Linked DNA regions of Homo sapiens: regions 1, 2 and 3 are each linked to region 4. Evidence: promoter capture Hi-C in 16 types of primary human blood cells and fetal thymus (Javierre and others, 2016). All regions are on one chromosome and are shown on one strand. The core of a region is centred on a gene start or on the middle of the fragment in contact, and the rest is flanking DNA. Distances in the headings are between cores, read along the strand shown.

What was found. The method cuts DNA at HindIII sites, captures the fragments that hold promoters and counts their contacts. A CHiCAGO score of 5 or more calls a contact.
Region 1: a fragment that was not itself captured here is called in contact with the fragment with the promoter of PIANP in region 4 in 1 of 17 cell types (non-activated CD4 T cells); the score reaches 5.7 in non-activated CD4 T cells.
Region 2: a fragment that was not itself captured here is called in contact with the fragment with the promoter of PIANP in region 4 in 1 of 17 cell types (naive CD4 T cells); the score reaches 5.3 in naive CD4 T cells.
Region 3: a contact is called between a fragment that was not itself captured here and the fragment with the promoter of PIANP in region 4, in 1 of 17 cell types (monocytes). The highest score is 5.3, in monocytes.

Annotation. Positions count from the first base shown.
Region 1 is chr12:6,927,839-6,934,145 of GRCh38, reverse strand. It overlaps ATN1 (atrophin 1), which reads right to left and starts at 6,187. Exons shown (of 10, transcript NM_001940.4): 1 at 5,762-6,187; 2 at 118-306. The coding sequence starts at 144. RefSeq lists a silencer at 6,189-6,307. The HindIII fragment of the contact is 1,254 bases long and covers 1,840-3,093 here.
Region 2 is chr12:6,906,521-6,913,484 of GRCh38, reverse strand. LRRC23 (leucine rich repeat containing 23) reads right to left here. Exons shown (of 8, transcript NM_001135217.2): 4 at 6,823-6,964; 5 at 6,040-6,170; 6 at 3,459-3,595; 7 at 458-755. The coding sequence ends at 482. Among named protein-coding and RNA genes, the nearest start is that of ENO2, 4.6 kb to the left of the region's middle. The HindIII fragment of the contact is 2,135 bases long and covers 1,792-3,926 here.
Region 3 is chr12:6,517,665-6,524,793 of GRCh38, reverse strand. NCAPD2 (non-SMC condensin I complex subunit D2) reads right to left here. Exons shown (of 32, transcript NM_014865.4): 12 at 7,111-7,129; 13 at 6,835-7,015; 14 at 3,684-3,808; 15 at 2,757-2,996; 16 at 1,792-1,966; 17 at 1,448-1,532. Among named protein-coding and RNA genes, the nearest start is that of GAPDH-DT, 13 kb to the left of the region's middle. The HindIII fragment of the contact is 7,418 bases long and covers 598-7,129 here.
Region 4 is chr12:6,696,101-6,702,611 of GRCh38, reverse strand. PIANP (PILR alpha associated neural protein) reads left to right here and starts at 1,797. Exons shown (of 5, transcript NM_001244014.2): 1 at 1,797-1,998; 2 at 4,508-4,567; 3 at 4,820-5,325; 4 at 6,088-6,169. The coding sequence starts at 4,551. RefSeq lists enhancers at 2,516-3,017, 5,721-5,830. The HindIII fragment of the contact is 12,862 bases long and covers 1-6,511 here.

The sequences.
Region 1 (6,307 bases), core at 1,217-3,716, 230 kb before region 4:
TGTTCTTTACATTGCACCTAACTTTATGGTGCACATTATTTGTTCTTCTTCTCTAGACCCTTCCTCCTAGCTTGCCTGCCCCGCCCCTCATCTTTCATGTCTCTCATTTTAACTCACCGAGTCTTTATTCTGTCGTGTCTTCATTCTTCAGGCTGTGGAGACCCCATTCTCCTCTGCCTGGGCAGCTGAATACAGAAACTTCTCTGCTCCACCCCAAGTTCCCCACAGCTGTGGTCTGGGAAGCAGGATCTCCAAGTTTCCAGTGTGGGCACCTGGAACTTTTGCAGGATCTGTTTTCAATGAAACCTGTTAGAAGGAAACCATCAGAGTCTCCAACTTGGAGAACAGAGTCACAAAGGAATACTATTCTGCTTGTCAGAGAACTGAGCAAGCGGCCCAACCCTAAGCCTTTGGGCCAAGAGGTACAGATACCACAAGACATTGCTGGCATGCCCCATGGGCTACCTTAGCTATCTAAAAGGGAGGCAGATTCTGCTCGAAGTATAATCTCTTTCATCTCTGTAGAGGGCAGAAAATTCGGATGTACCTACAAGCCCCAATCCAGGAGATCACACAGTTTACCCTTCATGATCCCTAAAGGATATTTGTGAACACACACATTCCACGGAGCCTTACAAAGGAACATAAAGAAATGGAGCGGGGCATGGTGGCTCATGTCTATAATTCCAGCACTTTGGGAGGCCTAGGTGGATGGACCACAAGGTCAGGAGTTCAAGACCAGCCTAGCCAACATGGTGAAACCCAGCCAGGCGTGGTGGCACGTGCCTGTAATCCCAGCTACTCAGGAGGCTGAGGCAAGCAAATCACTTGAACCTGGGAGGCAGAGGTTGCAGTGAGCCGAGATCATGCCACTGCACTCCAGCCTGGGTGACAGAGTAAGACTCTGTCTCAAAAAAAAAAAAAGAAAAAAGAAATGACATTGAAGTATGAATTTATTGAATACCTTCTTTATATCAAGCCCTTCACATACATGATTTCATTTAATATTTACAACCAACCCTGAATGGTAAGCATTATTACCCTCATTATATAGGTGAGGGAACTGAGGCTCAAAGATTGTGATTGTGACTAGCCCAACCTCACACAGTGAGGAACCAGTGACAGAGCCAGAATCAAACCCATGTCGGTGACTTCAAAGCCCATGCTCTTTCTTCTATACTTTGCTGTATTCTCCTCAGAAGTTGCTGGGGAGAATTCTCAGAAGGCCTAGATCAGTCACAGAGATATGAAAAGAATCTTTTCTCACATCAGAGTAGGTAGAAGAAGAATGTCCCATTCTATAATACAAAGGAACACAGCCCTACCAATCCCAAGACTAAACCTAGGTAGCCCCAAATTGTAGAACTTCATTTTTGAGAGCCCCATAAAGGACCCATTCTCTAGTACTTGAGCTCCCTAAGGCTAGAGGAAAAGTCAGGGTTTTCACATGAATGATTAAAGACTCAAAATATCCGTGAGCAAACAACACAGATGTACCAGTTTTTAAGCCTATCCTCCTACTTGGTGTAGACTGGGTTACACAGTTTCTCACAGCCAATCCATCCGTATCTGTCTATCAGCAGGTATCTATCTTTATCCAAATCCCTATAGCCAGCTGTATTCATTTGCACTTGTTTGTATTTCTTGCTAAGTGTCAAGTCCCTCCAAATTACTGATTGTAAGATCTTTTGAGAGCAAAAATGGTATTTTCTTACTGTTTTCTTCCTTTCCACTGATGTGTGTGCGCTCTTCTTGTGATTGACCTTTAAACCCACTAACATCAGTAGGTCTTTCTTCCTGAATTAAGTGCTGCTAGCTCCAGTGGGAACAGACTAAGCTTACCCATGTATTCTATTCTGAGTTGGAGGCCTGCTAGGTAAACGGCATGTCCATATTCTGTAGTGTATTTTTTCCCAAGAAACACAGTAATTCTCACTCACCTCCACGGAACCATACTGATGCAGGCAGTAAGGGGTGAGTCTAACCTTTCCAGGAAACTTCACAATTTACTTAGAATCACAAAATTGCTGGGACAGAGCCTATCTTCTGAACTTTCAACTGATGCTCTGCCCAGTAGACTTGTCTTTTTTTTTTTTTTTTTTTTTTTTTTTGAGACAGAGTTTCACTCTTGTTGCCCAGGCTGGAGTGCAGTGGCGTGATCTCACTCACTGCAACCTCTGCCTCCCAGGTTCAAGCGATTCTCCTGCCTCAGCCTCCTGAATAGCTGGGATTACAGGCATGCACCACCACACCCGGCTAATTTTTTGTATTTTTAGTAGAGACAGGGTTTCACCATGTTAGTCAGGGTGGTCTCGAACTACTGACCTCAGGTGATCTGCCTGCCTCGGCCTTCCCAAGTGCTGGGATTACAGGCGTGAGCCACTGTGCCCGGCCAACTAGTTTTCTTTTTTTTTCCTTTTTTTTTTTTTTGAGATGGATCTTTGCTCTTGTTCCCCAGGCTGGAGGTGCTATGGCATGATCTCAGCTCACTGCCACCTCCGCCTCCCAGGTTCAAGCGATTCTCCTGCCTCAGCCTCCCAAGTAGCTGGGATTACAAGCGCACACCACCACACCTGGCTAATTTTTGTATTTTTAGTAGAGACGGAGTTTCACCATGTTGACCAGGCTGGTCTCGAACTCCTGACCTCAGATGATCCACCTGCCTCAGCCTCCTAAAGTGTTGGGATTACAGGCGTGAGCCACCATGCCCGGCCTTTTTTTTTTTTTTTTTTTTTTCAACTACAGCTATTTTCCCACATTTTTTAGTTGTTATGTAGACTGGTTTTAAAATACTATCAACCAAAAAAAAAAAAAAATCCGAAGAACAACACCCACCATAGCAAAAGAGGAAAACAATCTTAAACAAAAAGCACAACAAAGATGACTATTTGTGATTGGTGTATTTTTGCCAGCCCTCCTAGAGAAGGGTGTCCATCTCCCTTCCCCATCACAGAACCTGTTCACCAAGTCAGTTAGGTTAGGGGATCCAAAAGGTCAGAGAAACACAGGAATGTACCTGAGGAACACAGCAATCATAGTATGCCCTTCTTTTTTAATCACCTGAAATCTGATAAAAACTAGCAATGAGAAGCTTTGAAGGAGAAAAGCAGTCATAAAAGAACAAGTAATCCTGGGGATAAGGAGTGGCAGACGAGGAAAGGAGTTAGGGGTGGATTGTGTGTCTTTCTAGACCTGGGTCATGTTTTAGCACCAGCCTACACTCCTAGCAGGCAATCACTGTAACTAATATTACAGAGCACCTACTCTGTATCTGGCCACATACTAAGCACATTCACCTTCATTACCTTGCTTTATTTTATTTATTTATTTATTTATTTATTTATTGAGACGGAGTCTCACTCTGTCACCCAGGCTGGAGTGCCGTGCCGCGATCTCGGCTCGGCTCACTGCAAGCTCCACCTCCCGGGTTCACGCCATTCTCCTGCCTCAGCCTCCTGAGTAGCTGGGACTACAGGCGCCCGCCACCACGCCCGGCTAATTTTTTTGTATTTTTACTAGAGACGGGGTTTCACCGTGTTAGCCAGGATGGTCTCAATCGCCTGACCTCGTGATCCGCCCGCCTCAGCCTCCCAAAGTGCTGGGATTACAGGCGTGAGCCACTGCGCACTGCCATTACCTTACTTTAAAAAGAAAATGATTAAGACCAGACTGGGTTGGGAGGAAAGTGAGAACTAGAAAAAGAGCCCCTAAGTAAGAACAGGAAAAGAAATTAAGAGAGAAATATGGGATGTCAGAAGGAATACAGTGGAGTCACAAGCTCTCTGGGAGGGGCTCGCAGGCTAAATTTCAGGATCATTGGCCCAGCCCCCAACATCATTCTGGACCTGCCAGACTAACAAACCAGTCCAAAGTGACTCCTAGATAACAATGCAGCCCAGACCAGCAGATAACGATGCACTGGCCTAAGCCTTCTGAGAATCCGGGACCTTCAGAGAGGCCTCAGAGATCATCTCATCTATAGCCCCTTCATCTTAACAATGAAGCCCAGGCTCAAAGAGAAGTGACTTGCCCAAGGTCACAGAGGCACAGCCAGGTCTAGACACAGGTCTCCTGGCTCCTGTTCTATAGTATTTCCCCTGCATGAAGCTGTTTCACAGCCCTCTGTCCTGGGCCACCCTCACCTGGGATGGGCCTGGGAGCCCAGCCATTTCTACAAGGTCAGGGAAGAAGGCCAAAGGTTAGTTGAGGGAAAGAGGAAAAGGGTTACTCAAGAAGGGAGGCTCAAAGAGGAATTCAAGTTTTAGAAAATGAAAGAAAGTGCAAAGAAGCAAAAAGACAACTCTACAAAAAATAACATAATAAGGGAGGTAGAGGTCAGAACCAACTGCCAAAAGATGGTGTAACCTGAACAGAAGCGTTTTCATCCTCCCATCATGCCCAGGTGGAGAGACTTGGAGAAACACCTATGATCTGCAAGGAACGTATCTACCTGTTCCAACAGACTTCAACATGAAAGGGTGCACACCGTGGGGAAACTCCCAACCACCAACAGATCCAGAAACAACCTCCAAAACCCAGCCCAGAGTCCCAAGGACAGCCACAGGCTGAGGTCCAATAAACATTCGAAGCCCCCCCAACCAATCTGACATCCCACTGGATCACTACCATAGCAACACAGTGGCAAAAGGTGCCCCTCAAGAGACCATCCCAGGTGTCCATCTGGCAGCTACCCCCTACCCCAGTTGCCAAAGCAACTCCTACCCTCCTATAGCACCTCAGGTAAGGGAGCTTGAAGGTACCTACCCTAGTCAAAATAAGCCCATGCACAAAGGGAGATCTTTGAGCTCAAAGCAGTAACTAAGGCCTCCCTATATAGATCACAGCTCCAGGGGCAGCGGACGCTCCGGAAATTGGAGGGTGGAGGGTGGAGGTCGCAACTTGCCTGGAGTGCCTGTAAGGTTGCTCAATTCTCCATTTCCATCCTCCCAGAACCCCTTTCTTCCCAACTCCCCCTTCTGTGTTCCTGTTTTCCTCCTCACTAGTTTTGGGATAACCCACACTACTGGGCCCCAGTGCCCTCTCCAAGAAATAACTATGTCTGGGATAGGGAAAACAGGGTCAGAGGTGACCTGCAGTAGGGGAATGAAAACCGTCACAAAGACATGGCCTTCCCTCTTCCACGCTGGAAAACCTCCGGCTCTTCTCAAAAATGGACCTCTCTTTGCCCAAGCCTCCGTCTCCCCCAGGTTCATCAGCCACAATCCCTCTTTCCACCTACCACACCCCTTTCCCGTTTCCCACTTCCCGTCTATTCCTAAAGCCCCCAACCCCAGGCTCCGGAACCCGTGTTCTGGTCCTTTGGAGCTTTTTCCTGGAGGCTTCATGCCCCACCTCGCTGCCATCTCTCCTATCCATTCTGCCTTCGCCCGGAACCCCACTCACAGCATCCCCCGTTTTCCTCCGCCAACCCCGGCCTCGATGTTCCTCCTCTTTTGAGTCTGCGGGTCCCGGATACCCTCTGGCCCCACAGGCCTCCTCCGGAGACCCTCCCTCCTTCCCCACCTTCCCGATCCTCCCGAAACCCTGGCCCCCGACTCTCCTCGGCGGGCCCCACCCCCTGAGCCCCCGGCCCTCAGGCCAGGCAGAGCCCGCAGTGGGGGGACGGGATTGGGAAAATAACAAATGGAGGCGGCGGCGGCAGGAGGGGGAACTGGGAGGGGTGGGGGTGGGGAGCCGCAGGCCGGAGCCCGGGCGGGACAGAACCCCGCGGGCCCGGGGCCCAGGCGGCCGCAGACCTTACCTGCTGGTAGCTCGGGACGGCTGGCTGGCTCCGAGCGGGATTCCGGGCTCCGGCGCCTCTGGGGGGCGGCGGCGGCAGCTCCCCCGCCCCCCTCTCCTCTTCTCGGCCTCAGTCGCCGCCGCGACGACGGCGGCGGCGGCCCCGACCCCCCCGGAGGGCGGCCCCCATCCCCCCTTTTCCCCGCCTGGCCCCAATCGCCCGCCGGCCCCCGGAGCAAACCCCGATCCCCGCTCTGCTCCCCACCTCCCCGGGCTCGCCGCCTCCCCCTGGCCGCCCGGAATGCCCCGGGCCGCGCCGCCCGCCCCCGCCGCGCCGCCCGGCCCCGCGGCCCGCCCGGCCCTCGGCGCGGTTCCGACCCGCCGCCGCCCGCGCCCGCCTAGCGCAGCCCGCACCCGCGCGATCCCGGGCCCCTCGGCCGCCTCGCCCGCGGCCCCCGCCCCTTCCCCGGCAGTCGGCTCCCTCTCCCCCCTCCTAGCCCCTCCCCGAAGCCGCGGTCCCTCCGAAATGGCCCGGCCCGAGGCCCCGACCCGGCGCGGGGCTGCGGAC
Region 2 (6,964 bases), core at 1,610-4,109, 210 kb before region 4:
TTTGCCTCACTCTGCCCTCTTTTCTTCCCCCATCTCTGTGTCCTGTTTTTAGCTTCAGATTTTTTGTGCTGGATCTTCCTCTCCTGCTTCTCTCCTAGGTCCAGCTGCATACACCACCAACTTTCCCCTGCAGCCCCTACCATGCACCCACACCTGTCCTTTCCTAGCCGACTTCACTCTGTGTCAGGTATGGCTGCCCCACCCCCCACCAACTCCTCTGCCTGCCACCCCAATTCTTTTCACTTACTCTTCTGGCCTCCTAAGTCTTTCTCAGCTGGTCCCAGGCCCCTTGGGTCCCTTTTCCTCTCCCTGACTCCTAACCCTCCTCTCTTTAAGGGTCCTGCTTGTCTGATGCTTTCCTCTCCCACCTCCTTCTGCAGCAGCTTCCCCTCTTGCCTCTTCCCCTACCTGCCCAGCCCTTGGCCTCCTCCCACTGCCTCCCTGCAGGCTTCCTTACTATCTTTAGAGGCTAGAACTGCTGCTAGATCAATGACTGTTCGGGTTCCAGGTCACGCTGGGGCTCAGGCTCCTGCTCCTTTTCTTCCTTCAGCCTCTGTCGAATCACATCAGCCTCAGCCCGTTCCTCCTCCTCATAGAATTCCTTGTCCAGGCGTTCAAGGTATGGCATCTGCACCAGGGCCTCCTGGCGGTAGCTGGTTTCGTCCGTGCATGGGTTATCAAGCAGCACCAACGCTCGCAGCTTGGGCAGGTCTCGAAGCTTGGCCAGCTCCCCCAGGTTGGCCACCATGTTGCCCCTGCCAGTGTGGTCAGGAGGGGTTCATGCAGGAATAATGGGCTTTGGTTGCCAGTTGCTAGGAATGGGGCCTCTGGGGGACTCTCGGGGTTCCAGTGTCCCTAGAAACACTGTGAGGACTGGCCTGCCAAGCCTTGCCAGATTTACTGCAGAGGTGCTGTGTGACCCCGCTCTGGTCCTGCTTCTGCCCTTCAAGGAATCCCTAAGTGCCATATTCTACTCTGTAATACATTCATGTGTTCTTTTGGTGCAGCAAAGCTAGGCCACAACCCTGTCTTGTAGCTGGGGAGGAGAGGGCAAATTTTCCTCACAGGGAGAGACATTTTCTGTGATCACACCTAAATGGAGGGTAGAAGGTAGGACCCAGCCTGGGCAACATAGCGAGACCCCATCTGTACAAAAGCTAAAAATAAAAAAATTAGCTGGGCGTGATGGCATACACCTGTAGTCCTTGCTACTTAGCTGAGGAGGAGGGATTGCTTGACCCCAGGAGTTTGAGATTACAGTGAGCCGAGATCGAGCCACTGCACTCCACCCTGTAGGACCTAGGTCAGTGGACAAGGAACTGGGATCTAAGCTGGAGTTTAGGGTGGTGGATGCTCGGTTCGTGCTCTCCACAAAGAGAACCTAAGGCTATGGATGGGTTGGAGCCTCCCAACCTGAAGAATAAACTTCATCTCCTAATGTGCCTCATTATATGATACTCTGTTTTTATTTTATTTTTATTGAGACAGGGTCTCACTATGTCACCCCGGTTGGGGGTGCAGTGGCATGATCATAGCTCACTGCAGCCTTGAATTCCTGGGCTCAAGTGATCCTCTCACCTTAGCTTCCTAAGTACCTCCAGGCATGTGCCACCACACCTGGCTAATGTTTAAATTTTTTGTAGAGACTGGGTCTCACTATGTTGCCCAGGTTTGTCTTGAACGCCTGGCCTCAAGCAGTCCTCTTGCCTTGGCCCCCCCAAAGTGCTGGGATTACAGGCGTGAGCCACCATGCCTGGAATTTTATTTATTTTCATGTTCTGGCTTTAAGCTTTTATGAAATCTATTTAAGTGTTTCAGCCTGATCTCATGGTCGTGCTGAGCCTCATGCAGTGTTTCTCACCAGGAGGGCTACAGGAACTTTGTACTGGACTCTGCCATACATTGTTGGATGCTTAGCATCTCTGGCCCCAGAGGCACCTGCCAATCATTGAGACACCCTCACCCCCCTCCACACACACACCCGACTTACTCTCAAAACATCCCCATTTAATAGCCACTCAGGAAGGGTCCATCATGCCTGTCTAGATCATTAACAGGAAGATGGCACAGATACACACCCCACCAGATCCGTGTGGCAGAGTTCATGAATAAGAGAATGCCCAGGGGGTCAGGATGAGAGTTGGGGCTTCCAGATGCAACCACCTCTCCCTACTTGGAGATGCTCTTTCCATTACCAGCTCAAGAATCTGGTCTTGTTGACTAAGGAAAGAGGCAGTTTCCTTACATGTTTGCTGAAATAAACACACATAAAGTCCTCCATCCGACAAGAGTTGCTGATCTTCAGTGCCTTTCTACCAAAAGATTTTCTTACAAATGTCCTTCTCTCCTCAAATCTGAGCACATCTTGTGTTTTTTTAATCAGTAAAAAGGTCATCCCTTACAGGTGGGGCTCAGGAGAAGAGAGGCAGGAAATGGGAAGGTGAATTGGGACCGAGGAAATGGAGAAGGGCAGTGGAAACTTATATAGGATAGGGTGAGGAAAAAAGAGTTGGAGCCAGACTGTGAGCCCCTTAGGAACAGGAATCACCTCTGATTCCTTTCTTTCTTTTAGAGACAGCTCACTCTGTCACCCAGGCTGGAGTGCAGTGGCACAATCATGGCTCACTGCAACCTTGAACTCCTGGGCTCAAGTGATCCTCCAACCTCAGCCTCCTGAGTAGCTGAAACCACAGGTGTGCACCACCAGGCTCAGTTAATTTTTATTTTTAATTTAATATTTTAATTTTTATTTAATATTTTATTTTTGTTTTGTTTTTGAGGCAGGGTCTGGCTCTGTCACCCAGGCTGGAGTGCAGCGGCTTTATCTCAGCTCACTGCAAACTCCACCTCGAGGCTCCAGCGATCCTCCCGCCTAAGTCTCCTGAGTAGCTGGGATTACAGGTGCCTGTCACCATGCCTGGCTAATTTTTGTATTTTTGGTAGAGATGGGATTTTGCCATGTTGCCCAGACTGGTCTTGAACTCCTAGGCTCCAACGATCTGCCCACTTCGGCTTCCCAAAGTGCTAGAACTACAGGTGTGAGCCACCATGCCGGGCCATTATTTTCACTTCTGTAGAAACATGGTCTCACTAGGTTGCCCAGGCTGGTCCTGAACTCCTGGCCTCAAGTGATCCTTCCTCCTAAAGTGCTGGGAGTACAGGCATGAACCACCATGCCCAGCCTCTGATTGCTTTAAATGTCCCCAAAACACAGCACAAGGCCTGGCACATAGCACATTCTCAATAATTGTGGATTGAATGAATAAAAATTCAGGGGTCACAAGCTATAAGGGATTTAGTGTTGCAACTCAGTGCAGAAGAAAGGAAGGAAAGCCGGGCTTTCCTTGAGAATCCAGCTGTGGGCTAGGACTGGGGGATTGGGCCAGGGAAGAACACAGACTCAAAAGCTGCACCTGGTCAGGGGTAGGGGCAAGGTGGGGCTTGGAGAGGGTGCATACCTCAGGTTGAGGTACTGCAATGATTTCATTTCTCTGGAGAAGCCACTCAGGGTGTCAATCTGGTTGTCTCGAAGATGCAAGGTGGTGAGATTGCTCAGATCCTCCAAGCCTTCCACCTTCTTCAGCATGTTTTGGGCCTAGACCCCCAGGGCACAGTGGATTGATTGAGAGGGAGCAGGGATAGGGAAGAAAGAGAAGTCAGAATGAGATAAAGCAAAAGAGGAAATCCAAGAGGTAGAGAGGGAGGAGTGGAAGAAAGGAGTGGGGGTGAGTAGAGATCAGTATAGAAAGTAAAGAAGTTCAGGAGAAGCTGCCATCCCAGAGAAAGGTCAGCAGTAACCCTCTACCATTCGCCCCATCAAAGCCACTTGGGATGGAGGAGATGCTTCAACCCACCCCTACCCGGCCCAGGAGCCCCCAGGCCACCACTGAGGATTGGCATCAGCACCATCCCAGAATAACGAAGCTTAAGAGTCTAAAAGACTAAATATTTCAGTGGCTTCCTGTGGAGTTATTATATATATAATATATAATATATTATATAATATATAAAATATATATTATATATTATATATTATATACTATTATATATAATATTTATATATTATATATAATATACTATTATATATAATATTTATATATTATATAAAATATATTATATATAATATACTATTATATATATTTATATATTATATATATTATATATAATATATACTATTATATATATTTATGTATTATATATAATTATATATAATATATTATATATAATTATATATAATATATAATTATATATTATATCTAATTATATATATTATATATAATTATATATTATATATAATATATAATTATATATTATATATTTTATATATAATATATAATATATAATATATAATTATATATTATATATTATATGTAATTATATATTATATATAATATATAATTATATAATATATAATATATATTTATATATAATATATAATTATATAATATATAATATATATATCGGTTTTCATCCACAGTCCCTAGCTTATAACCCCCATAATAGCCCTTCTTGCAGTCTTTTGTTATAAAGTTGGGTGTGCTGGGCCTCAGGGGCAGGTCTCAGGAACTTCTCCAGCCGTCTTTTCACCTGCTCCAAGAGAAAGCGCTAATCTTTCCCCCCACTCCCTCTTTCTGACTGTGATTCTTTCTTTTTTTTTTTTTGAAACAGAGTCTAGCTCTGTTGCCCAGGCTGGAGTGCAGTGGCGCAATCTCGGCTCACTGCAAGCCCCGCCTCCTGGGTTCACGCCATTCTCCTGCCTCAGCCTCCCGAGTAGCTGGGACTACAGGTGCCTGCCACCACACGCAGCTAATTTTTTTTTTTTGTATTTTTAGTAGAGACGGGGTTTCACCGTGTTTTTCTTTGGTTTTTTTTTTTTTTTTTTTTTTTTGAGATGGAGTCTTGCTCTGTCTCCCAGGCTGGATTGCAGTGGCGTGATCTCAGCTCACTGCAAACTCTGCCTTCTGGGTTCAAGCCATTCTGCTGCCTCAGCCTCCCTAGTAGCTGGGATTACAGGCGCATGTCAGCACACTGGGCTAATTTTTGTATTTTTAGTAGAGACAGAGTTTCGCCATGTTGGCCAGGCTGGTTTCGAACTCCGGACCTCAGGTGATCCGCCCGCCTCAGCCTCCCAAAGTGCTGGGATTACAGACATGAGCCACCGCGCCCGGCCTGATTGTGGTTCTTAAGACCCTCCCCAGCGACAGCCTCCCCAGTTTCCTGGGGGAAGGAATACTAAGATCATGAAGCTTCCATGAAAAGCCAAGAGGACTGGGTCCAGAGAGCTTCTGGGTAGCTGAACACGTGAAAGCTTTTGGAGGGTGATGCATCTGGGAAGGGCATGGAGCACTGCACCCATATCCCCATACTTCGCCCTAAGCATCTCTTCATCTGTATCCTTTGCCCTTGCAATAAACTAATAAAAACCACTCTAGAAAATTAATTAAATCCAGAGAAGAGGTCATGGGAACCAGCTTCATGTTGAAGCTGGTGTGTCAGAAGTTCTGGAGGCTTGGACTTGCAACTGGTGTATGTGGGCGGTGTAGGGGTCACTCTTGGGAACCGAGCCCTCAATCTGTGGGATTTGATGCCATCCCCAGGTAGACAGTGAATCGAATTAGAGATCACCCAGCTGGTGTCTACTACTTGGTGTATGGGGAGAAACCCCCACACCTTTGGTCCCGGAAGTCGTATGTTGATGATTGTTGTGGTGGTAGTGTAAGAGCTGAAGAAAAACCCAGTCTGAGAGGAGGGTTTTCCTAAAACATTTCCACAGACTGATGTTTGTACCTCAATTATGGTCCATTTTGCTACTACCTGTATCAAGGTAAATTATCTCTGTATTATCCACACATTATATATTATCAGCCCTGCTAGGTGGCTGTGTATCTCCACAGCATCTGGAACCAACTATGGTCTTGATAATAATACCAGTTATTATCATAATGATGAAGTTAGTAGCTGAGCCTACTAGAAAGCAGGCATCCTGACCCCCAGGACAGTGCCCTCTTCCCTGCACCACCCTCTGACCCAGTGAGCTACCAGGTAGAGGTTCTTCAGCTTAGGAAGATTGATTCCCAGGGTGCTTTCCAGCTGGTTCCCCCGAAGCTCCACTGTGTGCAGGCTGATCAACTTCTCGGGGTCCAGACCTGTCACCATGTGGATGCTGTTCCCTGGGGAGGAGGGTTTCAAGAGCTCAAAGGGCCACTCCAAATGCTCAGCATTAGAGCCTGAATTTGGGGAGCCTCTAAATCATCCTACCATTCGCAAAGCAGGGTAGATACTGAGGAAGGCCAGCTCCAGACTTAATACCTCTGGAGCCCTGAGGCAAGTGGTGTGGTAGGTAGTCCAAGGTCCTGATGGACATATCCACCTAAGCCTTTGAAGAGTGAATGAAGCAGCTGACATGTCTAATTCCCTCTCCTTCTTCAATTCTTTGCTCAAATGTCATCTTCTCAGTGATGGTTGTCCTAACCAATCTATTTGACATTGCCACCTGTGTCCCCCATTCCTCTTACTCTGATCTATTTTTTCCAAGGCACTTGTCTCCTTTTAACATGCTACATGAATGTACTTACTGTGTTTGTTGTTACTTGTTTGTCTCTCCCAATTAGAATATAAGCTATATGAGAATAGGGACGTTCCTTGTCTTATTGGATCCTATATGGTTAGCATGTAGAACTGTCATAATGAATCATATTGCGTATCTGAATGAATGAATGAATGCAGACTGCCATGTGCCCTAGCCAAGGACCATACTGCCCACTTCTGTTGGCCTCAGGCTAGGAAGGAAAGAATCTTGTGTAGCCCATCCTAAAGACCCACCTTTGAGATTCAGGGTTTCAAGACGAGGATGAGAGATGCCTTCAGTGTCAGTAATCTGGTTATAAGCAAAACTAGCAATCTGCAGGTAGGGCAGTTCATTCATCTGGGCACTTCGCAGCCGATTGCCATCAGCCTTGAGCCA
Region 3 (7,129 bases), core at 3,057-5,556, 180 kb after region 4:
ATGTCTCACTAAAATGCTGGGTGCCTGGCTAACACAGTTAAAGTCCTAGACTCCTGAAGTCATTCAGGGACTTCCACAGTTTAGTTCCAACCTACATTCACAACTTTATTATCTTTTCCAGATTTTTTTTTTTTTTTTTTTTTTTGAGACAGAGTCTCCCTCTGTCGCCCAGGCTGGAGTGCAGTGGCGCAATCTCGGCTCACTGCTACCTCCACCTCCTGGGTTCAAGCAACTGTCCTGCCTCAGCCTCCCAAGTAGCTGGGACTACAGGTGCCCACCACCACACCTGGCTAATTTTTTTGTATTTTTAGTAAAGGTGGGGTTTCGCCATGTTGACCAGGCTGGTCTCGAACTCCTGACCTCAGACCTCAGGTAATCTGCTGCCTTGGCCTCCCAAAGTGCTGGGATTACAGACGTGAGCCATCGCGCCTGGTCTTTTCCAGATAATTTGAACCAGAACACAGTCTTCTTTGTTCTACAATGTGAACTGTGCTCTTTCTTGGGTTCTGTTTGAAATGCCCTCCCTCCTTGCTCTGATTCTCTAAATCCTACTCATCTTTCAAGACCCAGCTTAAGTCCTACCACCTTCAGGAAGCTTCCTTGACCATTCTACCCCAAACCGCTCTCTTTCCTACTCTGTATCCCTCAGTAGAACACAGAAGTTAAGAGTATGTTTTCTAGAGCTCTTATTGCCTGAGTTTGAATCTCAAACTTTGCCACTAACTAGCTGTAACCAGCCAAGTTCAGTAACTTCTCTGTGCCTCAGATTTCTCATTGTAAAATGCAGATAATGCTACCTCACAGGGCTGTCGTGAGGATTAAACAAGTTACTGTGAGTAACGTGTGAGTGCCTGTCATATATTCAATACCATATAAGTGAGGTTGTTATTATTGCTATGACAACCATTACCCGTACAACTCATTCTGGCACTTTATTATCTACCTGCTGCATTGTTCTAAAAATGTTCTGTGGTTTTTCACTACCAACTAGACTGTTGGTTCCTTTAAAGTTGGGAACATGAAAGCAAATAGTCTTATACTTCTTTCTGGAGCTAAGTAAATTGCTAAATACATAGTAATAACTCAATAATACTTGTTGCCGGGCGCTTTGGCTCACGCCTGTAATCCCAGCACTCTGGGAGGTTGAGGCGGGTGGATCACGAGGTCAAGGGTTCGAGACCAGCTCGGCCAACATGGTGAAACCCCGTCTCTACTAAAGATACAAAAAACTAGTCGGGCATGGTGGCACATGCATGTAATTCCAGTTACTCGGGAGGCTGAGGCAGGAGAATTGCTTGAACCTGGGAGGCGGAGGTTGCAGTGAGCCAAGATTGTGCCATTGCACTCCAGCCTGGGCAATGGGGCATGACTCCGTCTCAAAAAAAAAAAAAAAAACAACCAAAATACTTGTTGAATGAATAAAGAAAGAGAAAGCAGGAAGCCTTACAATTTCCTCAAGACACTGAATGGTCCCAACCGAGGCATCCACTAGCAGCAGAGAGAGATTCTGAATCAAAGCCTGGGCCTTGGCTCTGTGGGAACAGCAGAGATCAGCGGTCACTATAAGATTGGGAAGCTGAACTTGGCAAACAGTGATTAGGGCTATCCCACCACAGTGCTACAAAACTGCTCTCCCTGGAAACCGAGCCCCACCCTAAGCCCCACTATGATGGACTGCCTATGGATCTGGAACTCCCCTGGAGAAATGCACCTCTTCCTTTAGGAGACAAGGGAAGTCCTGTGAGAAGCTGACCTTGGAAAAGTCAGCAAAGGCAAAAGCACCCCATATACCTGGCAGAGTCCCCTTTGGGGTTGAGGTAGAGTTGGCGGTAGGCATTAAGCACGGCTTCCCGGACACCAGGCTCCTTAGACCAGATGAGAGGCAGCATACGGCGCACCCCAAACAGGGCCTGGGGTACCCCAAATTGGAAGACCATCACAAAGAATTCAATCACCTCCTGCACCACTGAGAGAACATGTACAAATGTCACCTATCTACTTCACAAAACTCCCCCAATACCTAACGACAGAACCTTTCTGAATGTAGCAAGATGCAAATGGAGGCCTTCCGCATTTTCCCTGAGAATGTCGACTCCTCCTATGATGCCTTATCATGAAATACTATATGCATTAAAATGTATAAGCTGTAAGTGGCTAGAGGAAGCAAACAGAAAAAAAGAACCCCTGCCTTTTTTTTTTCTTTTCTTAAGACACAGGTTCTTATTCTGTTGCTCCGGCTAGAGTGCAGTGGCATGACCACAGCTCACTGTAGCCTCAAACTCCCGGGCTCAAGCAATCCTCCTGCCCAGCCTTCCGAGTAGCTGGAACTACAGGTGCGTGCCATCACGCCCAGTTAGTTTTTGTTTCTTTGTAGAGATGGGGTCTTGCTATGTTGCCCAGGCTGCTCTCGAACTCCTGGCCTCAACCTGTCTTCCTGCTTTGGCCTCCCAGTTTTGTAGGGATTACAGGCATGAGCCATCGCGCCCAGCCGAGAACCCCTGCCTTTTAAAGGAGCAGATAGATATATCAATAAAATATGGAAAAGAACTCCAAGATCCATGGCCGGGTGCAGTGGCTCACACCTGTAATACCAGCACTTTGGGAGGCTGACGCAGAAGAATTGCCTGAGCCCAGGAGTTGGAGACCAGCCTGAGCAACAAAGGAAGGCCCCATCTCTATTGTTAATAAAAATTTAAAAAATTAAAAAATCCAAAAGAACCCCAAGGCTGTCCTTATAGAAAGGGACTCTGGCATACCTGTAGTTGTGTTTTCATACATCATCTTGCTGATGATGCCAATGGCCTCTGTAATCTTCCGGGAGAAGCTGTAGGCATCCTGCAGATACTGTACCAGCATCTCCTGCTTCACTAGTTCATCATTTCCCCTGGATTCCTCAGGATCCGACATATTGGGTTTATTTTTACAGACAGTCTGTCCTGTGACCATGTTTCCTGTAGACTCCCGGGGATTCTTTTCTTGTGTGGAAGCTGCTGGGCCTAAGGAGTTAGAGAAGTACAGGATGGTTTCGTTCAAGGGGATACAGGGGAATCCAACAGCTGTCAACATTCCTGGATATTTACTTATTTATTTTCCTTCTTCTTTTCTTTTGAGATGGGGTCTCACTCTGTTGCCTAGGCTGTGCAGTGGCAATGATCACCGCTCACTGCAGCCTCAACTTCCCCGGGCTAAGGTGATTCTCTCACTTCAGCTCCTGAGCAGTTGGGACTACAGGTGCGTGCCACCGCACCTGGCTAATTTTTTTTTGGTATCCCTTGTAGAGATGGGGGTTTCGTCATGTTGCTCAGGCTGATTTTCAACTCCTGGGCTCAAGCAATCCTCCTGCCTTGGCCTCCCAAAGTGTTAGGATTACAGGCATAAGCCACGACATCTGGCCCTGGATATCTCTTTTCACAATGTGAAGATATGAAATTAAAACTTACTCTAAAATATCTAAATTTCTCAAAAACCATACCTAAAGACCGCTATGGTCTGGACAGTCACCCTGTGACTATCAATCTTAGGCCCGTGGGCTGCTTCCATTCCAGAGCAAAAGTAATGCCAATTCATCTCTGGGCTCTTCAGCACCAGGTTCTGTTAACCAGGCCAATGATGGCATAAAGTTAATGCTCAGTAAATACCAGTTGACATGTGTTATTTATTGACTGAAGAAGGAAAATGATTACCTTTGAAGATAAGTCCTAAGATATTCAAGAGCCTGGTCTCCTCTGACTCCTCTGGGTCTATATGACTGAAGGGTTCGGACTCCTGGAAGTGGCCTGTGGCTTCTCGAGTGAGAATGATGGCCTTTCTGAAAGAACACCAGCCTGTCAGTACCCAGAAGAATGTCACTGCAGCCGTTTGTAAGGGAGCTTACCTCATGATTCTATCAAGTCCCTGGACCTACTGCCCAGAGAAAAGGAGCACTTAACATGCTTAAAAAGTTGTTACAGCACCTACTAAGGGGTAGGGCTCAAAACACTTTGCCTATTTTTTTCCCCTGACTGCTCATCTGCAAACACTTTTCCTATTTCTGAACCTACAAGGCATTACTACAGTCTTCAAAAAAACTCCAATAAGGCTTTTTAAAGTTTTAAAATCATAAACCTACTCCAAACACCTGTTTAAAAACTTTCCTAAGTTTAGAAACAATAAACTTTCAATAATTAGTTAATTCAGGCACATCCAGACAATAAGATTCTATGTAGTCATAAAAAATAATGGGGACACGTGAGCCCAGGAATTTGAGATCAGTCTGGGCAACACAGGGAGACCCAACTATACAAAAAGTAAAAAAAGTTAGCCGGGTGTGATGGTGTGTGCCTGTGGGTGTGATGGTGTATGCCTGTGGGTGTGATGGTGTGTGCCTGTGGGTGTGATGGTGTGTGCCTGTGGGTGTAATGGTGTGTGCCTGTGGTCTCAGCTACTCGAGGGAGCTGAGGTGGGAGGATCACTTGAGCCTGGGAGATCAAAGCTGCAGTGAGTTGTGATCATACCACTGTACTCCAGCATGGGCAAAAGAGTGAGACACTCTCTCTCTCAAAAAAAGAGGAGAGTGGGAAACTATTTATGTATAAATATATATGTGTATATATATATATATATTTTTTTTTTTAGAGACAGAGTCTTGTTCTGTCACCCAGGCTGAAGTGTAGTGGCATGATCTTGGCTCACTATAACCTCTGCTTCCTAGGTTTGAGTGATTCTCATGCCTCAGCTCCCCAAATAGCTAGGATTACAGGTACGTGCCACCATACCTGGCCAATTTTTGTAATTTTAGCAGAGATGGGTTTCGCCATTTCGCCACGTTGGCCAGGCTGGCCTCAAACTCCTGGCCTCAAGAGATCCACCAGCTTTGGGCTCCCAAGGTGCTGGGATTACAGGTGTGAGCCACTGCACCTGGCCATCTATAAATTTTTTTTTTTTTTTGAGATGGACTCTTCCTCTGTCACCCAGGGTAGAGTGTAGCGGAGCAATCTCAGCTCACTGCAACCTCTGCTTCCTGGGTTCAAGCAATTCTCCTGCCTCAGCCTCCCAAGTAGCTGGGATTACAGGCATGAGCCATTGCACCCAGCCATAAATATTTTTAAAAACCACTGAGACACATAGTTAAGTGAAAAAAACAAGATGGTAGATCAGTGGGCAGAGAATTCTATCAGTCATATAAAAGGGGGAAAAAAAGAATACATGTTTGACTGCTTGTCTACATGTTATCTTCTTGCCACGTTGCCCAGGCTGGCAAAGGCCAGGCCTGGTGGTGTGTACCTGTAATCCCAGCTACAAATTATAAATAAATTAACCAGGCTACTCAGGAGGCTAATGTGGGAGATCGCTTGAGCCCAGCAGGGTTGAGGCTACAGTGAGAGGCTGCAGTGAGCTGTGATTGCGCTACTGTACTCCAGCCTGGGCAACAGTGAGATTCTGTCTCAAAAACAAACAATCCTTTTCTAATTGACAGGAGAAAATACTAGAATGCTTGGTGGAACATGCACTTATAAAACTATAGTCTCTATTTTTGCTTTAGCAAAATAAAAAGAGAGACACTAAAGTAACATAAGGGAGTCATAGGGCAAACAAGCCACTCTCTAGCCTTCTAAAAACAGCCCAAGCCGGGCACGGTGGCTCAAGCCTGTAATCCCAGCACTTTGGGAGGCCGAGGCAGGCGGATCACGAGGTCAGGAGATTGAGACCATCCTGGCTAACACGGTGAAACCCCGTCTCTACTAAAAATATAAAAAAAAAAATTAGCCGGGCGTGGTGGCGGGCGCCTGTAGTCCCAGCTACTCGGGAGGCTGAGGCAGGAGAATGGCGTGAACCCAGGAGGTGGAGGTTGCAGTGAGCCAAGATCGCACCACTGCACTCCAGCCTGGGCAACAGAGCAAGACTCCGTCTCCAAAAAAAAAATTCAGCCCAATTAGGTAAGAAGTAAATAAATAACAAATAACTTGTGGCTGAGGTTTAAGAATACTTGTTGGCAGCCGAGTGCGGTGGCTCACGCCTGTAATCATGGCACTTTGGGAGGCTGAGATGGGTGGATCACCTGAGGTCAGGAGTTCAAGACCAGCCTGGCCAATATGGTGAAACCCTGTCTCTACTAAAAATAAAAAAATTAGTGCGGTGTGGTGGTGCGCGCCTGTGGTCCCAGCTACTTGGGAGGCTGAGGCACGAGAATTGCTTGAACCTGGGAGGCAGAGGTTGCAGTGAGCCAAGATCGTGTCACTGTACTGCAGCCTGGGCAACAGAGTGAGTGAGACTCCATCTCAAAAAAAAAAAAAAAAAAAAAAAAAAAAAACTTGTTGACGGCTGTAAGGGCTTTTGTTGTTAAGTTCTAGAGTCACAAAAACACTAGGAGAAATCTTTTCTCTAAGATCAGGATTCATACTAGGTTTGAAGATTAAGGTAGTATTAAGCATGTTTGATATTATTAGTTCATGAAATTTAGAATTAGAAAGTCCTTAGAGATCATAAGATCTAATCAATTTCTTATTTTATAGATAATGAAACCGAGGCACAGAAAGTTAAGCAACTTATTCAAGATCATACAACTAGAACTTATTTATAGGTGCTCTTCTTCAATTGAAGGAGGACTCATGTTTGATTATAATACTGTTAACATTTAATTGTTTCAGTAGTTTTTTTAAACATTTATAAAGTAGAAACACATGCTTAATTGTGGACTAGGCCTATGGTCAGACCATTACTACATGAAAACATCTACCATCACCTGGTGGCAGCATATCTGTGTGCAGTTAATTTAAAAGACACATTATGTAAGTTTCTCAAAGGTTAACTCTAAACATAAACAGATCACGAAGAATATCCCATTCTTTTGCCTACTTGTAACTAGCTTTGGCAAGCAGTTGATAGATGCGTCCTTTCACATCTTCAGTTGTCTCTGTATTGGCAATTTGCTCAGGAATCTCCTCCTCTCCCTGGGGAAGCTGTAGAAGCTGCTGCAGGGTAGACTTCAACTCTGGCAGCATGGCTTCCCACTCCTCCTCTGGGTCCAGCACTGCAGCTAAATGAGAGTGTCACTTAGTCTCTTTCACTAGAGTTTCTGACTGCAAGGAGAAGCCTGTCTGGCATTAGGACTCCAAGGCAGTAACTACTTACAAGCTGCTGCAGTTCGCCT
Region 4 (6,511 bases), core at 548-3,047:
AAAAAAGTGCAGGGATGCTAAGAGAATGACTTCTGATGTTACAGAACAGCAAGTAGTCTGATCCAGCAGGAGCACTGTGTATGAGGTGGGTACAGGCTGGTGGGCTTCTCCTTACAAGGAGTTCAGATTTATTCCAAGTGTAATGAAAAACCACTCGAATATTTTAAGCAGAGAAGAGCATGACATGCTTTTGATTTTTAAAATATTATCAATATAGGAAAAACTAGTTTGTAAAGACAAGGGCAGAAGCAGGGACCAGTGAGGAAGCTATTATGATAATCTGGATGAGACATGATGGCTTAGACCAAGACTATAGCAATAAAGATAGAAGGAGATGAATTCGGGATATATTTTGGACGCAGAGCCCACAGGACTTGTTGGTGAATTAGATACAGGGAGAGAATCAGTGAAAAAAAGGGGAAGGGAGGGATGTTTCCTAGATTTTTAGCCTGAACAACTAGTAGTTGTGAAGCCTCAGGATGGGGATCACTGGGAGAAAAATGGATTGGGGGTGGGGGAATTCAAGACATCTATTTTAGTCAAGTTAGCTTTGCATGGCTATTAGACATCCAAGTGGAGATGTCAAGTAGGCTGTCGGATAAATGAGTCTGGCGCTCTGGATATAAATTTAGGACTCACTGACATTTACATAGTATTTAAGCCCTGGGACCGGATGAGATCACTGGACAGAGAATGTGGAAAGAGAGAATGGCCAAGGACTAAGCCCTAGGAGGCTCCAACATTTAGAGGTCACCCGAGGAAGACTAAGAACAGTCAGTGAGGTTGGAGGGAAATGAGGAGAGTGTGGTGTCCTGGAAGTGCCCTGAGGAAAAACAGCGTAGTGTGGTAGAGAGGGATGGGATCCAGGTGGTGGGAGAAGGGGCAGGAGAGGCTACTTTTGATAGAGACATTAGGGAAGGCCTCCCAGAAGGCGTTGGATCTAAGTGAGACTGGAATGAAAACAGTAAGTCATTGTGAAAAGCCAGGGAAATGTATTACTGAGGGAACAGCAAGTGCAAAGGCCCTGAGGCAGGTTAAACCTGTCTCCAACCAGGAAATCCACCAGGTCCCATGTGGCTGAAGCATAGAAATCTTTAGGAAAGGCAATCAGAGAGCCACCTAAGAGCCAGGTTATATAGGGTCTTGTAAGTCACAGCACGGAGTCTAGGTATTCCAGTGCTGGAAAAGCCCAGGAATTTCGACGTGATCCACTTAATGCATGGTAGCAGGGCCAGAGTGAAATAGGGGATCAAGCTGTGGGGATAATCCAAAGATGGTGCAAGGTCCTTCCTCCCCAGTCCTTTCCTCCACCCCTTGCCCCCAGCCTTGACCTCAGGCACTTTCTACAGCGGGCAAAACCAAGTTGGGGGACAGGCAGTGGTGACTCACGCCTGTAATCCCAGCACTCCGGGAAGCTGAGCGGGAAGGATCGCTTGAGCCCAGGCGTTCGAGACCGGGCTGGGCAACACAGCGAGACCTCATCTCTACAAAACACAATACAAAAGAACAAAGTTGGGAATGCAGAGCATTGAGTGACTCAGAATCTCAGAAACTGACTGAGGCGACCATGGGTGTCCCTGGAGTTGGGGTGAAGGAGGTGGGGAGACTGCCATCAGAACCCAGGGAAGCGGACGGTCGCTGGACCCTGCCAGCCTCTTCAGCCCTCCACCTGGGACATAGCCTGGCTTGACTCCTGCAGCGCGGCAGCAGGAGGGTTAAACCGTGCGTGGCCTCCGGCGCGGGGGGGAGGCGGAGACGGAGACGGAGCGGTCCCAGCCGCCGCGCCGAGCCCAGCCGAGCCGAGCCGAGCCGAGCCGAGGCGAGCATCTCCCACCGCCGCCGCCCCGCGCCCCAGGCGCCCGCCCCCCACCCGCTCCAGCGCCCTGCCGCGGGCCAAACCTCCCCACCATGCCCCGCACCCCGCCCGCTCCTGCGACCCCCCAGCCCCGCTCAGTCCCGAGCGCCCGCAGTCGTCGCGCCGCCGCGCCAAGCATGCAGGTGAGTGAGAGGGACCCCCACGCCCCCACCCGCGGGGAGCCCGGCCCTGCCCTTCCCGGCTCCGCGCCCTGCGCCTCCTGCCCCTCCCGACGCGGTCCCTCGCCCGGGACAAGGCCTCCAGCCTCCCAGCGCCCCTTCCCCGAAGGGCTCTCCATCCCTCCGCGGTCCTGGCTCGCTCCCGCCCTCCCTGGCGCAGCCGTCCCCGTCCCCGCGGCTGCCTCCATCCCGCCTCGGCTCGGCGGGCGGCTCCGCGCAGTCTCCTGCTTCGGGTCCCCAGTCCGCTCTCGGCACTCCCTGCCTCGGGGTCCCTTCGCCGACCTCCTTTTCCTCGTCTCCCCCCACTCTCGCCGCTCTCCAGCCCTGTGCGGGGAGTGCGGGCCTGCGGGATGGGTGGGATGGGGGCCACGCTGGGGCTGGGGCCCGGCTCCCGCACCCCGAGGCTCCTGCCCCACCCCCAGCTCGTCTCCTGCGCACAACAGGTCGGTGAGAAGCTGGGAGAGGGGTGGGGGTGGCGCGCCAGCCCGGGGACTGCGGGCTTCCTGGAGGGGGCGGCTGAAGCTGTGCGGGGCCCAGGGACTGGGTTGGCGCTGGCTGGGGGTGGGGATGCACAGGCGGAGGGGCGATAGTCCTAGAGTCAGCTGGCCACAGATGCGCCCTGGGAGCCCTTCTCCGCTTCACTGGTTCGCTCTACACGCCTCGCTCCCTCCCTCTAGCTTTCTTCCTTTCCCCTCTCTCTCCCTTCTTCCCACCATGCCCCCATCCCTATGTCTTTCGGTATCTCCACATCCCTTTACATTTGGGGGAGCAATTCCGAACTCCTCCATCTTTGCTGCTCCCGCCTCTGCTTCCCAGCCCGTTCCTCGTGTCATTTTTCCTTAAGCATTTATGTTCTCTCCTTCCCCACTTCCTTTCTCCCCATCCTGGGCTTTCCCCCCTTTTCTCCCATCCCCTTACTCTCCACTCCTCTGGCTGTCCTGCCTGGACCGCTCTCTCCTTCTCCTCCTGCCCCTTCTTCCCCTGCACCTGTGACCCCTTCATCCTCTCCGTTTCCCCTCCCTGACCTTTTCTCTCATCCTTTCCTCCCTTCGGCATCCTCCACAGTTCGAGTCTTCTGTACCCACTCTCCTCCTCTCTTCCCAGTTCTCTCTTTTTCAGGACTGCCTGCTCTCTCTCACCCTGCACTCCAGGCCAGCTTCCTCTTCACATTTCTCCTCTCTCACTCTTAACCAGCCTTCCATCTCCCAGCCCTTCACCCCTTCCCATCTCTCCCACTGCCTGCTTCCCCACGCCCTTCCCGTGACTTTCCCATCTTGTTCCCTTGTTGTTCTCTGGGAAGATTCAATGGGCAGATTTATTTATTTTATTTTTTGAGTCGGAGTCTCGCTCTTGTTGCCCAGACTGGAGTGCAATGGTGTGATCTCAGCTCACTGCAACCTCCGCCTCCCAGGTTCAAGGGATTCTTCTGCCTCAGCCCTCTGAATAGCTGGGATTGCAGGCGCCCACCACTACCCCCGGCTAATTTTTGTATTTTTAGTAGACACGGGGTTTCACTATGTTGGCCAAGCTAGTCTCGAACTCCTGATCTCAGGTGATCCACCCGCCTTGGCTTCCCAAAGTGCTAGGATTACAGGCGTGAGCCACTGCGTCTGGCCCATTGGGCAGATTTAGACCCAGAATCCACAGGAAACGGGTATCCTATCTTCACTCCCTCTGGGGAGCCTGCCCCTCCTGGATCCACCACCCTCAGCTCTGAGAACACACCCTTTCTCTTTCAAAACCAACCATCCCGATTTTCCCAGGATTCTTTACCCAGGAGAGCCACATTTGAGGGGGTGGTTTCTTCCTGACTCCACCTCCCTTCAGAGGGCACCTATGCACTTGGATGATTAAACATTAAGAGCAAAAATTATATTCTGTAGTTTTTCTCCCACTCACCTCTCTCTTTCTGTCTCTTTCCTTCCATCCCTCCAGCTCTTCATTCCTTTCTCCTGAAGATGCAGACTCCTGGGGCTAATCATAAGACAAATGCCTGGCACTGCCAGAGGGGTGGGAGGGCTGGGAGGGCTGGAAGGGCCCCCCTGCACGTACACACACTCACTGGCTTGCTCAGATTGACTTCCCCATCCCTCCCCCTACCCTCAGACTCCCTCCCTAGCGGTAGGTGCTCAAGGAATCACAAGGTTCTTGGCTCTAAATTAAGATCCAAGAAAAGCCTGGAGCTGTGGGCAGAGGAAGTGAGAAGAAGGGAAATCAGAGAAGCCAGAGTAGACCCTGGGGTGGAGAGGTAACAGGGACCTGAGAAGTTGTAGATGGGGCTGGAGTCTGGTCAGGCAACCACGCTGGAGTTTTTCCCCCAAAAGGATGCTAACAACCAGTGAATCCTGGGTGCAGCCGCATAGCTGGCAGCTGGGTGGCCTGGGAGGGCAGATGCGGGTAGAATTGGTGGATGAATTAGCTGGGGAAGTACACAGGGCAGGGCTGGGGTGTGACGGCCCCCTTTTTCTCCCAGTAAAGGCTGAAAATCTGGGTCACAGCTGAGGAAGACCTCAGACATGGAGTCCAGGATGTGGTAAGTTTGGCCCAGCAGAGGGAGCCTGGAGACCACATTCCCTGGGGCCATGACTCCTTCCTTCCTAGACCCATCCAGAGCCTTCCCATCCTGAGGGCCATCCTCCTTTGGAAGATGGGAAATGAGGCGAGTCTTCCCAAGGCCCACCTGCTTTCACAGGGAAACCTGGAGGTTTCTGGTGTGAACCTGTCCCTCCCTCACATAGGCCCACAGTAGGCCTGTGTCTCAGCCACGCTCTCTCCCTTCTTGCAGGCCTGCGCTGCTGCTGTCCCACCTCCTCCCTCTCTGGCCACTGCTGTTGCTGCCCCTCCCACCGCCTGCTCAGGGCTCTTCATCCTCCCCTCGAACCCCACCAGCCCCAGCCCGCCCCCCGTGTGCCAGGGGAGGCCCCTCGGCCCCACGTCATGTGTGCGTGTGGGAGCGAGCACCTCCACCAAGCCGATCTCCTCGGGTCCCAAGATCACGTCGGCAAGTCCTGCCTGGCACTGCACCCCCAGCCACCCCATCAGGCTTTGAGGAGGGGCCGCCCTCATCCCAATACCCCTGGGCTATCGTGTGGGGTCCCACCGTGTCTCGAGAGGATGGAGGGGACCCCAACTCTGCCAATCCCGGATTTCTGGACTATGGTTTTGCAGCCCCTCATGGGCTCGCAACCCCACACCCCAACTCAGACTCCATGCGAGGTGATGGAGATGGGCTTATCCTTGGAGAGGCACCTGCCACCCTGCGGCCATTCCTGTTCGGGGGCCGTGGGGAAGGTGAGTGGGAAAGGCTGGGAGGGATATGACGGATGGGGAGGCTGGGTGAAGACACCAAGGGGCAGAAATAGAGGCCTTGTCTGTTAGCTCCTTCAACAAATGTGTCAGGCACTATACTGGCACAGGATGCAGAGATAAAGACACCCTCTCGGAGTTCAGGTCCACTGGAGCAGACAGACATGAAAGGACTTGGAGAGGAGTCATCGTAATAAATGCTTTAATAGAGGCATGTGCAGCATGATTTACAAAAAAAGAGAAGTGAGAGTCTCCTCCTGCTTGGGGATCAGGACACCTTCAGAGAACTGACATTTGAGCTGGCCCTTGAAAAGAGAGTGGGAGTATTCTGGGCAGAGAATGCCATGAATGAAGGGCACTACCCGGGAGATGTCTTGGCTCAGGGAGTGCTGATGGAGGAACAGGGCCTGTGGTTTGGGAGTTGGGCCATGGCAGAGACTAGGACATCTCCACCCCTTAGTTTCCAGGCATAGTGATAGGTTCTCGCTGATCATGGGGCCTCATCCTCATCACATATACACATAAGATTTGGTGAAATACATTTGGGAAAGTGGAGGAAAAGAGCTGAAAACTCAGGGGAATGCTGGTGATAATAAAGAGTGAGGCTCCAGAGGGGCAGACAGAGCCGGCAGTGTGGATCCACACAGCAATGCCACTCCAGCCGACAGAGCCCACAGCCCAGCCCCCAGCCCCTCTTGGCTCCTACCACCTCGGGGCTCCCTAAAACTTTCTTCCCACCCCAATCAGGTGTGGACCCCCAGCTCTATGTCACAATTACCATCTCCATCATCATTGTTCTCGTGGCCACTGGCATCATCTTCAAGTTCTGGTAAGCTGGGAGGAGGAAGGTGCTGGTGGATGGGGACGGAATGTTTGGCAGTCGAGGCTCTAACCACGAGGGGCAGTGGCAGCAATTTTGCTGGGGGGTGGGTGGGAAATGCTGGATGAAGGCAAGACCTTGGGAAAAGATAATTAAGGATTTGGCTGGGGGAAGACGGTGAGAAATCAGGGCAGATTCTGTCTCCCAGGGAAATACAAGGATAAGGGAGGGCAGGGGAATTATTCCTGTGCATTCCTGGTGAGCCTCCCCTGCCCCTACTTCCTCCAAGACAGAGAAAGCTGACCCAGTCTGCAGAGCCCTTCTTAGGGTTGCCTGGGGGGAGCAAGAAAA